Linked DNA regions of Homo sapiens: regions 1, 2, 4 and 5 are each linked to region 3. Evidence: promoter capture Hi-C in 16 types of primary human blood cells and fetal thymus (Javierre and others, 2016). All regions are on one chromosome and are shown on one strand. Each heading gives the region's core, a stretch centred on a gene start or on the middle of the fragment in contact. The rest is flanking DNA. Distances are from core to core; before and after follow the strand shown.

Region 1 (2,700 bases), core at 7-2,506, 270 kb after region 3:
TAGCCTTGGGATCTGGAAGTTATGCTGGGTCCATCTTTATGGGTTTAAAAGGATGAATTTGGGGCTTAAACCTAGAAAGTTCAGGTCAGGGGATTGTGGAAAAGACTTTTTGCTTAAGAACTACCTCGGTATTTGAGTGTTCAGGAATTTTAATATGGGAACTCTGGGGTCTGTGCTGTGGATTTAGAAGGACAGATTTGGAGTTCAAGGATCAATGGAATATTCAACTTTGGGGTTTGTTGAACAGATTTATGACTTAGGAGCTTGGCAAACATCTGGGGTTCAGGAGTTTTGATGAGAGATTCCTGGGATGCAAAATGTTGAGTTTAGAATAGATTTGAGGTTCAGGTACAAATACAGTGCTCATTTATTGGAATTTGTGGAAAAGATTAGGCTTAGGCAGCAGACTAATACTGGGGGCTTTAGAGATCTTGATACGGAGACTGGGGCCAGTCATTGCAGACTTAGAAAGGCAAGTCAGAGTTTGCCATCTGGATGAGTCTTTGGTTCTGGGGCTCAGGGATTCACTGATCAGGTCTGAGGTCTTGAAGCTATGGACACATATGGACACAGATCTGGGTTTGCGGGTTGAGAACTGGCTTGCAAGTCCAGTCGGGGGTGGGGGGGTCACCTGAAGGCCGTAAAGGCGGATGAAGTAGGACTTCTGGGGGTTATCCTTCACGAAGCACACAGCCCCACAATGCTCCTTGGTCCAGTGCTCAGCTCCAGGGGGCAGCGCCAGGTACAGCTGAACAACTGCAGTGGCCAGCGTCTGGGAGAGGAAAGCAGGGGTCAGTGGAGTCTGGTCAGGGGTAGCCACAAGGTCTTGGAGCCAGACCTGGTCCTTCCTGCCTCATGACAGTCATGGGCCCAAAGGAAGAGCTGCAGCCAGAGGGAAGGCAAGTAGACATTGAGATCTTCCTGGGAAGGGTGGATTATGACGGGAAATTCTAGGAGAGGAGATGATGGAGAGGGAAAGGAGGAGCGGGAGGAGGGGAAGAGAGAGAAGGAGGAGAGGAAGAGGAAGAAACGGTGGGGACGGGGCGGGGGCAGGAGATCCCCAGCTCACCAAGCATTTTCGTCCAAGCATCTCAAAGAGTCGCTGGTTCTCGTGGTCCTGGAGGAGGGTGGAGGGTATGTTCTGCTGAACCGCTGGTGCTCCTCGGCCCCCGGGCCTTCCTCCCATTGGGCCCCCACTCATGGTGCTTTCTGCCCTTGTCTTCTCTGGCGAGGCTCTGGGTGCAGGGTAAGAAGAGGAACTTCCGCAATGAGCAGCAAGGGAACAGGAAATGCAAAAAACCACAAGGGACAAGGGAAACAAGTCCTCCAGGGGCCCCTTGGTGGGCCTGGCCTCCTCGTTAGGCTGAGCTTGGGCCCTCCGCCATCAGATTGGAACCCTCCTCCACTTGACTGCTTAGACCCACCTTTTGGATCAGCTTGGGTCCTCCTCCCCCTTTCTTACTCTCTGGGGCCCATCTCCTTCTGACTGGCTCAGACCCTCCTCCCTCTGGCTGGCAGCGAGAGCTTAGCACATCTGTGTGCAGGGCTCCCTGTGGCAAGGAGTAGTCATGGGCCTGGGTGGCCTCCTTTCTAAAGCACCTAGGTAGCCTGAGGCTGAGGCCCGAGGTCCCTAGTCCGGAAGGGTTACTACAGTAAAACTTTTCCTTTTGGCTGGGGACAATAGCTCACACCTGTAATCCCAGCACTTTGGGAGGCCGAGACGAGTGGATCACTTGAGGTCAGGAGTTCAAGACGAGCCTGGGCAACATGGCAAAACCCCATTTCCACTAAAAAATACAAAAATTAGCCAGGCATGGTGGCACACACCTGTAGTCCTAGCTGCTCAGGAGGCTGAGGCAGGAGAATCGCTTGAACCCAGGAGGCGGAGGTTGCAGTGAGCTGAGACTGCACCACTGCACTCCAGCCTGGATGATGACAGAGCAAGACCCTTGTCTCAAAAACAGCAACAACAACAACACAACAAAAACCCTTTTCCTTTTAATTACAGAGCGAGCCCCTGTGATCCACGCCTATCGTGAGTGCTTAGACACTGCCAATGACGCATATGCCTCTGGTCCACTTCCCCATCCCTTACCCTTGCCTCCCCGCAGCTCCCAAATTACTTTCTGCTTGTCATACTTTTTTTTTTCTTTTTTTTTTTGAGATGGAGTCTCACTCTGTCGCCAGGCTGGAGTGCGGTGGCACGATCTCGGCTCACTGCAACCTTTGCCTCCCGGGTTCAAGTGACTCTCCTGCCTCAGCCTCCCAAGTAGCTGGGACTACAGGCACACGCCACCACGCCCAGCTAATTTTTTTGTATTTTTAGTAGAGACAGGGTTTCACCATGTTGGCCAGGATGGTCTCGATTTCTCGACCTCGTGATCCACCTGCCTCGGCCTCCCAAAGTATTAGAATTACAGGCGTGAGCCACCGTGCCCAGCCCATCCCTTTTTTAAAGAAAGGAACTTTATATCATATATGAATGCCTGAACAACATCTTGTTTAGTTTTCATTGCACTTGAAGTTTGTAAAAGCACATAATCTTCAAAGGCTTGCTTTCTCCCCACTGGACATCCTAGTTTTATCTTAACACTCACATAGCACTTAACGTGTGTGCCAGTCACTGTTCTGACCCCTTTGCCCGGAGTGCGAGCCAGGCAGGCCAGGTGTGAGTGCATGGTCTCGTCCCTCCACGCCTTC
Region 2 (2,700 bases), core at 116-2,615, 320 kb before region 3:
TCGAGTGAAACAATACTTACCTTTACTGCATGTGGTGATACACTGGCATTTCTTATGCTATTTCCTTTTTCTTTTTAATGCTTGTTGAAACCCAGTAAATTGATTTCACAACTCAATAAAGGGTTAGGATATGCAATTTTGAACAATTCCAGCTCTGCCACCTATCAGCTGTGTGACCTGGGGCAAGTTACTTAACCTCTCTGTGCCTCAGTTACCTCATCTCTAAGGAGGGGATAATAATACCTACATCAGTGAGTTGTTCAGCAGATCAAAGAAATATTTGAAAAGTACCTATAAAGCACTTAACAGTAACCCCCTCCAAATTTCCATTGAGGGAAACTGAAGCTCTGAAAGGAAAGCAACTTGCCCAGTGTTGCCCTGCTGGTAAAATGCATCACCCAGCCTGGTACAGTAGCTAAGAGCTGGAGCACTAGAGCAGGACCACACAGGCTCAGATCCCAGCTCTGCCACTTTCTTAGCACGTGGCCTCAGGCCCATGTCCTTAACCATAATGCCCTACCAAGTTTTCTGTGGCATAAAAGAGGATCACGTTCACATTAATTCCTCACTCTACAGAAAACTAAGATGCCCCTGACTTGTCCCGTTCAACTCCAGTTATTCTGGTTTCCCCTGAGGCTGCCAACTCAGATAGCAGGTTGGATCCCCATCCCTTCAGTTATAGGTGCACTGAAAGACAGTGGGCCTTCCTGTGCATCAGCCCCAGTGACGGATCCTGGAGACACCATGGTGAGCAAACCCAACTAGGAAGCTTACAATTCAGTATGGAGGAAGACATTAAAAAAATACTCAAACTCATTATTTCAACAAACATTTATTGAGCACCTGCTAAGTGCCAGGCACTGTGGCAGGCCTGCAGGAATACAGTGGTGAATGAAAGCAGACCATGTCCCTACCCCTCACGGAGCTTACAGTCTAGCGGGGCAGAGAGTCATCCAGCAACCCCCTAATAAAGATATAACTACAAACTGCGATCAGTGCCTTTAGAAAAGGAAAGAATGCCCTAGAATAAGGGTCCCTGGCCCAATCTACAGGGTCAGGCAGGGCTTACTTAAGGATGCTGAAAAGCAAAACGAGCAAGTGGGGAGGTAGGGGAGTGAGAGGCTGCTTGGGAACACTGTGGGAGAGGTGATGAATGCAGTCCCCGACAAGGTGAGTTTGAGGAATTATTTGGGCCATCAGTCAAGTGGAGATGCCGAGTTTGGATACATGAAGCTAAGGGAAGAGCCAGGAGAAAGAGAAGGGCCAGAGAGTTAAGAGGAAAACCAGCAGAGTGTGGTCTCAAGGCAAGGGAAGACAAAGTGTTTTAAGTAGGAGTGGTCAACCACTTCAAGAGGAAAACTAAAAAACCACCTGCAGAATCTGGCAGATGCCGGGGGCTAACACTTACGGGGGTGAGCAAGTGCAGAAGGCAAGTACAGGCAACTCTGCAGGGGTCAGCAGTGAAGGGGAGGGTGATGAGGTGCTGGCCAGAAGCAGGAGGGAGAGAACGTGGGGTCAGCGGAGACAGAAGGGATGCTGGCACAGGCAAAGGTGAATAGAGGATCAAGCAAGGAGGGCAGCAGAAAACCTGCCAGGAGAGAAAAGGTGACTGATGATGTCAGATTCTAGAGCAAGTAGCAGAAACTGGGACCCAGAGCACAGGAGGGAGAAGTGGCCTGAGCAAGAAGGGACTCCTCGTCATCTGTAACACAGGGGAGGGAAATCAGCGTGCAGACTTGGGGGCCACAAGTTATAGGGAGTTCCATTCTTATGGCTTCTGTTTTGTTTTTTGAAGCAGGAGAGAAAGTCTGAAGGTAAAGAACATTTGAAAGAGTCACTTCAGAGGAGAAACGAGTGGATCAAAAAAATATAGTAGAACTGCTAGGCAGGGTGGCCGATGACCCCTCGACTGGTGGCGATGTTCATCTGCTCTGCCATGGGACATTCTCTAACAAAGCTTAGCACGTGCTGGGCTGATGAGTGCTATGAAAAAGCCAGGGGCCCGAGGACACTGGGGTGGACAGGCTCCCCTGGGGAAGTCCTCTTAGAACTGAGGGATCAACACTGGAGGAGACTGCAAGGGGTACGGGATAAATGTTCCTGGTGAAGGAAACAGCAGGGGCAAAGGCCCTGCAGCAGAAAGGAGCGAGGCCCTTTGGAGTAACAGAAAGACCATGGTGACAGGAGCTCAGAAAGACCACTGGTGTTAAGACTATGAGCCAGTGGAGGCCAGATTGGGGAATGGGATGGGAGGGTGCTTGAAGACCATGGTGAGGCTCTCTTGGTCTTTACTTTTAAGAAGAATAGGACACTTCCAAAGGGTAGTGTCAAGTGCCAAGGAAGATCAGGAGGGCTTTTCCCCACACCAGCCCTAGGACTTTGGACTCTGGGAGCCTCAGTTTGCTCATCCAGGAAAGAGAAATTTAAAACCCTCTACTTCACAGGGAATGTTGTCGGAATTAAACCAGACCTTGCATGAAAATATAGTACTCAGTGAAGTGCCTGGCGAAGAGCAGGGGCTCAGCCAGGTCTCATACAACAAATCCTCTGTACTCCATCCCACAAGCCCTGTGACATCTTAGGACCACTCTGCATCTCTTTCCCTGCTGGAACCTAGCACTGTGCCCAGCACACAGTAGGCAGTCAATAAATGCTTGTCGATGAATCATCTCTAAGCTTTAGAGTTACCAAATGCCTGGT
Region 3 (2,700 bases), core at 182-2,681:
GACGCTGACTGGTGACAGAGCTTTCATAAACCTCGATCGACCCAAGCAAACTCAGTTTTAGAAAAAGGCTGGGCTTGGCCAGGCGCGGTGACTAACGCCTGTAATCCCAGCACTCTGGGAAGCCGAGGCGGGAGGATCGCTTGAGCCCGGGAGCTGGAGATCAGCCTGGGCAACATAGTGAGACTTTGTCCCTACAAAAAAGTGAAAAAAAAATTAGCCGGTCGTAGTGGTGCGCGCCTGTGGTCCCAGCTATTCGGGAGGCTGAGGCGGGAGGATCGCTTGAACCTGGGAGTTGGAGTTTGCAGTGAGCTATGATCGCGCCACTGCATTCCAACCTGGGCGACAGAGTGAGACCCCTGTCTCAATTAGGAAAAAAAAAAAAAAAAAAAAAAAAAAAGGCTGGGCCGCGCCTGCGCACTAGCCATAGGGGCGGGGAGGTCAACGCGAGGCCGAGAGTGCTGTGGTGCCAGAGAAGGCGTGTCTGTTTCCCAAACAACCACTGTCCCCACGGCGCCTGTCTGTCCCAAGGTTGGTCGGTATGCCGCGAGTGACGGCGTCTCTTAACCAATCACCGCAGAACTCAGGCTGTTGCCGGGGCGAAGCGGTGTCCGCCTCCCCCGGAAGGGTATTTGTAGGTGGGTGGGACCGGAAGTGACGCTACAGGGGCCAGCTATGCTCCCGGGAGTGTTGATGTTTTCCAGTCATTCCGGCTGACAGCGTTCAAGTTGGAATCCTGGAGGGGAGGTGTTTTTCCTGTCGTACGTGGGACAGGCCACGCTGTCCGTCCGCAGTACCGACGCCTGCAGGTCAGAGCTTCGGGGAGAAAAGTGAAGAGCAAGACGGAACTGACGGGGAGAAAGGCTGGGAACCAGGGTGTCGACTTTGACTGAAATTTGAGACGGAGGGCACCGGAGGGCGAGCACTCGCCTGTGATTGGCCCGTGGGCGTCGTCGAGGTCCCACGCAGCTGCTCAATTGGTTGGTGTTGCAATTGTTGTGGCGGCGGCGGCGGCGATTTTGCCCACGTACTTCCGAGTAAGGGGCGGGGCTGTGCCCTGGCGCGCGTGCGCAGCGCCCCGGGGCCCCACCCGGTAGTGCAAGAACCTGCGAGGGGGCGGAGCGAAGAGGTGCTTGTTTTGGTTCTGTTTCCTTTGAAGCAGAAGGCCGGAACAAGCGTAGCAATAAACTTGCTGGACTTGGAGAGAAGGCTAAGACAAACTCGCCGCACTGCCTTCATCTTGGACTTTACATCCGGGTTCTCCTCTCGGCGTGACCCGCGCGCCGCCACCGCCGCCGCCGCCGCCGCCGCCTCCTCCGCCGCCGAGGGTTCTCGAACCGGTGCCGCGATCCCTTTATCCGGGTCTCGCCGTTCCCGTCGTGCCTCGCGCACTACACTAGCCCCCTCATCCGGGTTCTCTCCCGGCGTGCCCCGCGCCGGGTTTGTTGGGGGGTACTCGGCAGTGCAGCCATGACTATACTCCCCAAAAAGAAGCCGCCGCCTCCCGACGCCGACCCCGCCAACGAGCCGCCGCCGCCCGGGCCGATGCCCCCGGCGCCGCGGCGCGGCGGAGGTGTGGGCGTGGGCGGCGGCGGCACGGGCGTGGGCGGCGGCGATCGCGACCGTGACTCCGGCGTCGTGGGGGCCCGTCCGCGAGCTTCGCCACCGCCTCAAGGCCCGCTACCAGGACCGCCGGGCGCTCTTCATCGCTGGGCGCTGGCCGTGCCGCCTGGTGCAGTGGCGGGTCCCCGGCCACAACAGGCTTCTCCACCTCCTTGCGGGGGCCCAGGTGGTCCCGGCGGCGGTCCCGGCGACGCGCTGGGCGCAGCGGCGGCGGGTGTGGGTGCCGCGGGCGTGGTGGTGGGTGTGGGTGGTGCCGTAGGCGTGGGCGGCTGCTGCTCCGGGCCTGGGCACAGCAAGCGGCGACGTCAAGCTCCCGGGGTTGGCGCGGTTGGCGGGGGCAGTCCCGAGCGTGAGGAGGTCGGCGCAGGCTACAACAGTGAGGACGAGTATGAGGCGGCTGCAGCACGCATCGAGGCTATGGACCCTGCCACTGTCGAGCAGGTAAGAGCTGTGGGGTGAGGGGTGAGCGGCCACGGCAGATGGGACCCCCAGACTGTGAAGGGACTCAAGGAAGGCTGTTTGAGATCGCCCCAAGGGATCTAGGCGTTTTCACTGGGCCTGACAGTCTTCTCTGGCGGTAGGGATGTGAGACACCTTCTTTCCTCCCCTCCAGGATTTTGGGGCTAGAGGCCTACGGTAAGGTGTCAGACTTAAAGATCCGAGGTCTCTTTTAAGGTCTATAGTCGTCATTCCAGTCCCTGGGACCTCATCATATAGGGCCAATAGGTGGGAATTCTCCAAGAGATACAGGTAGGATCGCGCCCCTCTTGAGTAGGAGTCTCAGGTCTCCCAAGAGACTTAGGTATGTGTTCAGTGGCTTAAGAGCTCTTTTCCTCTGGGATAGAAGTTTGAGATTCCCCTTCCAGGAAAGTCAAATAAGGTGGAGACCTCGGAGATCGGGGCTGAACATCCCCAAGGAGCCTAAGCCCTTTCAAGAGTCTGAGACACTCTGCATATAGGACAATCCTCTCCCGCTTCGCTGGGTAACACTGCACAGGACCACTGAATAGCCAGACCTGAGACCTCAAGGGTCCTAAGTCTGTCTTCAGGGGCCTGAGAGTCCTGCTTCTAGAATCAAGG
Region 4 (2,700 bases), core at 201-2,700, 440 kb after region 3:
GACCATGACTAAAGGCCAGGCACCGTGGCAGGTAATTCCAGTGCTTTGGGAGGCTGATGCAGGAGCAGCACCTGAGGCCAGGAATTCAAGTCCGGCCTGGGCAACACAGCGAAACTGTCTCTAAAAAAATAAGAAAATCAGTCAGGTGTGGTGACAAAGGCCTGTAGTCCCAGCTAGTAGGTAGGCTGAGGCAGGAGGATCGCTTTGAGCCCAGGACTTCAAGGCTGAAGTGAGCAGTGACCACATCACTGCCCTCCAGTCTGAGACTCTGCCTCTAAAAAAGAAGGCCGGGCGCGGTGGCTCACGCCTGTAATCCCAGCACTTTGGGAGGCCAAGACGAGTGGACCACTTGAGCTCAGGAGTTCAAGACCAGCCCGGCCAACATGGCAAAACCCCGTCTCTACTAAAAATACAAAAATTAGCCAGGTGTGGTGGCGTGCGCCTGTAGTTACAGCTACTCAGGAGGCTGAGGCAGGAGAATCGCTTGAACCTGGGAGGCAGAGGCTGCAGTGAGCCGGGGTCATGCCACTGCACTCCAGCCTGGGCAACAGAGCGAGACTCTGTCTCAAAATAAAATAAAAAAGAAAAGAAAAAGAACATGACTGAAACACAAGGCCACAGAAAGGCTGAAAGCTTGTTCCAGCCCTTTAGAAGCCATATTATGATGTGGTAGAAACAGTCCCGGTCTCAGCCCTCGGGGGTCAAAGTCTGGTGGGAGGCACATGGGAACAACACCTGATCCCAGCCCTCCCTGGTCACAGTCTGGCGAGGGAGATACAGGACCAGGCCTGGTGTCTTCCTTCAAGGGTCACAAACTGCTCACGACCACCAAACCCAGTCCTGTGCTCCGGGGTCACGGTTTGGTAAGAGACACAGGAACCAGGCGTGGTCCAGTTGCACAGGTCAGCGTCTTAAACCGTTCAACAAAAAGCTATTCCCTCCCCCACGTAGTCCTGAAAACTGCAACTGGGGGACAGAGGAAAGAAAACGAATCAGAACTACAACCCTCGGTGCCAGCGTTTGGAAAGCCAGAGCCTCCCCGCGAGAGCGTGCAACGCCGTCAACCTGCAGGGAAGAGACGGATATTGAAAGGCCGGTGTCTGGCGTGCAGCGCTAGAACGGAACACAAAGCCGGTCAATCCGAACCAGAACCCTCCAGTCCCGCTGCCCAATGAGAAGACGGATCTTCTGTCCTCTGGACAACCGTGCGGTAGCTGGGGGTCTCGCGCAGGCGCAAAAGGGCGGTGGGGGGGGCGGGTGGCAAAGGGTCTCGCGCTGGCACGCCGAGGGCTGGCCGCGTAGCCGGGGAGAGCTGGGGGAGGGAGCAGGGGCCGGGTGGAGGGCACTCACCAAGGCGCGCGACGGCAGCGGCCTCCCACGCTGGCTCCGGGCTCTCTTTAGGCTGGGTCTCGCGCTCTGTCACATCCCTAGTTCGGGCTCATCCCCTAGTGGGTTCTCTTGCCTTACGGAGCGAGCCAATGGTGAAGCGAAGAAGGCGGCCCGTGCCGCTCCCAACCAATAGACACTCTCTTTGTACCTCTAGCCCCGCCCCCGCGCGTGGCGCCATTTTCACCTGAGTTAGGTTTGGGGTGGAGACTGGGACGCGCCAAGGTTAGTGGGCGTTTTGGATCCGTAGCCAATCTGCATCGAGTCCTGGCTTCAATTTCCCCATTCCCTTATCAGTCGATCAAAACGGGGACTCATTAAGGTCTGTACCCGCTTCTTCCGCTGGTGAAATTAGCGTTGCGTTGCATCCTTTCACCTCCGCCCTTTTCTAGGTAGAGTAACCCTTAGTATAATGCAACGAAACTGTTACAAGCAGATCACACGCTATACACTGCAACCACCCCCTCCCCAGCTCTTCAGTGCTCAGAACTCCTCAGTCCTAATAGCAGCGGTCATTCTCTCTTCTCCCGACCTCAAGTCAGAAGAACTAGTTAGAACCCAGGCCTCTCAGTCCTACTGACCAATTGGCATGAAGACCCTCAATCTCCATATGCCAGTTCTAAAAAGCCAATCAAACGCCTAACCACCAGTGGGCCCCCAGATGGAGCAATCAATCAGAATCCAGACCCATCCCAGACCTCCCATCCAATTAGAACCCACAACCCTCAGTCCTAAGGATAAATAGGCACCAACCCTTCATCTCTCTTGCTTTCTCTCCTCTGTGTCCCACTCAGAGCAACCAATCAGAATGGGGATCCTTCAGTTTTCCAGCCAATCAGGCCTCCCCCACATCCAACTATGCAATCTGTCCCTGCCCTGATCAAACCAAGCAGGACCAGGATCCTGCCATCTTCAGGCTCATCATCTAATCAATCATAAACTAACCATGAACCAATCACAGTCTGCTCTCTCTTCATGGTTTCCAGCTTCCAAACCTTTATCCATGCTGTGCTCCCTTCCTCACTCATTCCTATTCCCCTCTGAGCAGTGAAGAAGAAGCCTATTGAATATTTCCTACTTTTATTTGACAATAACAAATTGTATATAAAAAGGAAGAAGGAAGGCGGGGAGGCCCTGGATCTCCCCTTCTCTGTTTCCCCAAGCATCCCCCTCTAGGCCCCAGCAGGCACCACCCCCTTCCTGCCTTGTGGTGGGGTGGGGATTGACAGGCATGAAAATGGTGTGATTTTGTGTGTGTGTGTGTGTGTGTGTGTTGAGGTGTTGGGGGTCAAGGATGGAGGGGGTCAAGGAGTA
Region 5 (2,700 bases), core at 185-2,684, 280 kb before region 3:
CAAGTTGGGAAAAAATATTTGGAGCCCATATCATAGGTAAAGAGCAAATCTACCTATTATAGAAAGAGTGCCTAAAAATAAACAGGACAAAAAGACCAGAAGCACAATAGCTCAGAACAAAAGGACTCATGAGGGTTCTGATGGGGACTGAGGAAACAGGCCAGGAGAGAAAGAAAGCCTTTTTCCTTTTTTTTTTTTTTTTTTTTTGAGACAGGGTCTCGCTCTGTCGCTCAGGCTGGAGTGCAGTAGCGTGATCTTGGCTCACTGGAACCTCTGCCTCCTGGGCTCAAGTGATCCTCCCACGCAGCCTCCCGAGTAGCTGGGATTACAGGTGCATGCCACCACACCCGGCTAATTTTTGTATTTTCAGTGTAGACAGGGCTACACCATGTTGGCCAGGCTGGTCTCAAACTCCTGGGCTCAAGCAATCTGCCCACCTCAGCCACCCAAAGTGCTGGGATTACAGGTGGGAATCACCACACCCGGCCTAGGAAAGCCTTTTTCTTCCAGAGTTGCCACTGCTTTGGAACTGCATAGACTCTGAAAGCAGACTTCCTGGATTCAAACCCAAGCTTTGCCTCTTACCAACTATACGACCTCAGGCAGATCACTTAATCCCTCTGTGCTTCACTTTCTTCATCTGAAAGAGGGTATACCAACAGTACATATAGCAGAAGGTTGTCCTGAGAATTAAATGAGTTAACACCATGTTACTTACCACAGGGCCTGGCACAGAGTACACTTAGAAGCCATCATTATTCTATACTTAGGAGTATACTGGGTCACAATGCAAGATATATTTATTTTGGAGGCTCAAGGTCAAATAAGTATAACCACTGGCTTTTAAGGTATTTTACTTTGGATTTTTTCCACAATATGCAATCAAAGAGCTGTGACTGATATAGAAACTCATTCCAGGAGTGGGGAAGGTGCCAAAATATGGAGGTGGCTAAGGTGCAGAAACTGTTGCCAGGAGCAGGGCATATGAAGAAAAGATGCCAGAACATGGCAGTGCTGAGTTGCGGGGGGGCTACAGGGACAGCACACAGCTGGATTAAGAGAACTCCTTTTGCCTGCTGCTGATAAACCAAGGCTGCTGGGGGCCAGACAACCATATGTACCTGTTTTTTATTTTTTTGGAAACAAGAGTCTTGCTCTGTCGCTCAGGCTGGAGTGCAGTGGTGCAATCTCGACTCACTGGAACCTCCGCCTCCTGGGTTCAAGCGATTCTCCTGCCTCAGCCTCCTGAGTAGCTGGGATTACAGGCACACACCACCACACCAGGCTAATTTTTGTATTTTTAGTAGAGACAGGGTTTCGCCAGGTTGGCCAGGCTGGTCTCAAACTCCTGACCTCTGGTGAGATCTGCCCGCCTCCACCTCCCAAAGTGCTGGAATTACAGGAGCCACCGTCCCCAGTCTTTTTTTTTTTTTTTTTTTTGGAGATGGGGTTTCACTCTGTTTCCCAAGCTAGAGTGCAGTGGCGCAATCACAGCCCACTGCAGCCTGGACCTCCCAGGCTCAAGCAATCCTCCTACCTCAGCCTCCCACATAGCTGGGACCACAGGCGTGTGCCACCATGCCCAGCTATTTTTTTTTTATTTTTTGTAGAGATGGGGGTCTCACTATGTTGCCCAGGCTGATCTCGAGCTCCTGGGCTCAACTGATCCTCCCACCTCAGACTCCCAAAGTGCTGGGATTACATGCAAGAGCCAACGTGCCCAGCCCACATGTACCTCCTGGCCACTGGAAAAGCCATAGTCACTAACCCCCACTAAAATCAATGTAAGCAAAAGCAGGTGAACAAAATCCAAGAGAGACAGCACTGAGGGAAGAACAGAGAACTGCAGGAAGCCTGAGCCCCCACCTCAACACCTCCTGCTGTGTACTCTCCTCTGCAAACAGAAGACATAACTTCCCCCCTATTAAGTGCTAACCTTAAGAATACATACAGTCCTGGGCCAGGGGACAGACTGCCTGCCTCATAAGGCCACCAAGAGCCCCAGAGAGAACAATGTGACAACTCCTGAGAGCTGGGTGAACCTGAGAGCGAAGGGATGGATGGAGCTCTGAGACCTGTTGCTAAGAGACAGAGACTGCATAAGCAAGGCCCAAATTTAACAACTCTAGCCACCCAGTCCCCTATATCTAAATGAAAGTTTTCACGGTAGTTACTCTATCGTCCCTCCACCACCATATACTTCCTGGGTCAGTTCAAAGTGTTTCCATTCACTATGTATTCACAGGTTCCAGATCGGACCTATCCAATAATAGTAATCCCATTTATGCAAAGCTTATTATAACCAGCTTTTCACACATTAACTCATGTTTAATCCTCACAGCAACCCTATACAGTAGCTACAATTCTTATACCCATTTTACACATGTGGAAACTTAGCCTCAAAAAGGTTAAGAGAGCCAGACGCGGTGGCTCACACCTGTAATCCCAACACTTTGGGAGGCTGAGGTGGGTGGATCACAAGGTCAGGAGTTCGAGACCAGCCTGGCCAAGATGGTGAAACCCTGTCTCCACTAAAAATACAAAAAAATTAGCCGGGCACAGTGGCAGACACCTGTAATCCCAGCCACTCGGCAGGCTGAGGCAGGAGAATTGCTGGAACCCAGGAGGCGGAGGAGGTTGCAGTAAGCCGAGATTGTGCCACTGCACTCCAGCCTGGGCTTCAAAAAAAAAAAAGACTGG

The links. Contacts are between HindIII fragments. The CHiCAGO score rates a contact against its expected background, and 5 or more counts as called.
Region 1: a contact is called between the fragment with the promoter of WAS here and the fragment with the promoter of OTUD5 in region 3, in 4 of 17 cell types (non-activated CD4 T cells, activated CD4 T cells, M1 macrophages and 1 more). The highest score is 7.0, in non-activated CD4 T cells.
Region 2: a contact is called between a fragment that was not itself captured here and the fragment with the promoter of OTUD5 in region 3, in 1 of 17 cell types (neutrophils). The highest score is 6.1, in neutrophils.
Region 4: the fragment with the promoter of EBP here is called in contact with the fragment with the promoter of OTUD5 in region 3 in 2 of 17 cell types (neutrophils and naive CD4 T cells); the score reaches 7.7 in neutrophils.
Region 5: a fragment that was not itself captured here is called in contact with the fragment with the promoter of OTUD5 in region 3 in 1 of 17 cell types (non-activated CD4 T cells); the score reaches 5.1 in non-activated CD4 T cells.

Annotation. Positions count from the first base shown.
Region 1 is chrX:48,682,355-48,685,054 of GRCh38, reverse strand. WAS (WASP actin nucleation promoting factor) reads right to left here and starts at 1,256. Exons shown (of 12, transcript NM_000377.3): 1 at 1,070-1,256; 2 at 632-772. The coding sequence starts at 1,201. The HindIII fragment of the contact is 18,512 bases long and covers 1-2,700 here.
Region 2 is chrX:49,273,885-49,276,584 of GRCh38, reverse strand. The region is part of intron 1 of PPP1R3F (protein phosphatase 1 regulatory subunit 3F); the gene reads right to left. Among named protein-coding and RNA genes, the nearest start is that of PPP1R3F, 5.4 kb to the right of the region's middle. The HindIII fragment of the contact is 1,188 bases long and covers 772-1,959 here.
Region 3 is chrX:48,956,338-48,959,037 of GRCh38, reverse strand. It overlaps OTUD5 (OTU deubiquitinase 5), which reads left to right and starts at 1,431. Exons shown (of 9, transcript NM_001136157.2): 1 at 1,431-2,061. The coding sequence starts at 1,468. RefSeq lists an enhancer at 685-874 and silencers at 975-1,134, 1,335-1,384, 1,755-1,814. The HindIII fragment of the contact is 4,109 bases long and covers 1-2,700 here.
Region 4 is chrX:48,520,558-48,523,257 of GRCh38, reverse strand. EBP (EBP cholestenol delta-isomerase) reads right to left here and starts at 1,450. Exons shown (of 5, transcript NM_006579.3): 1 at 1,351-1,450. It overlaps PORCN (porcupine O-acyltransferase), which reads right to left. Exons shown (of 15, transcript NM_203475.3): 15 at 2,450-2,700. RefSeq lists silencers at 1,166-1,345, 1,406-1,635, 2,550-2,609. The HindIII fragment of the contact is 9,622 bases long and covers 636-2,700 here.
Region 5 is chrX:49,238,994-49,241,693 of GRCh38, reverse strand. All of the region lies in intron 2 of CCDC22 (CCC complex scaffolding subunit CCDC22), which reads right to left. Among named protein-coding and RNA genes, the nearest start is that of CCDC22, 4.9 kb to the right of the region's middle. The HindIII fragment of the contact is 1,720 bases long and covers 575-2,294 here.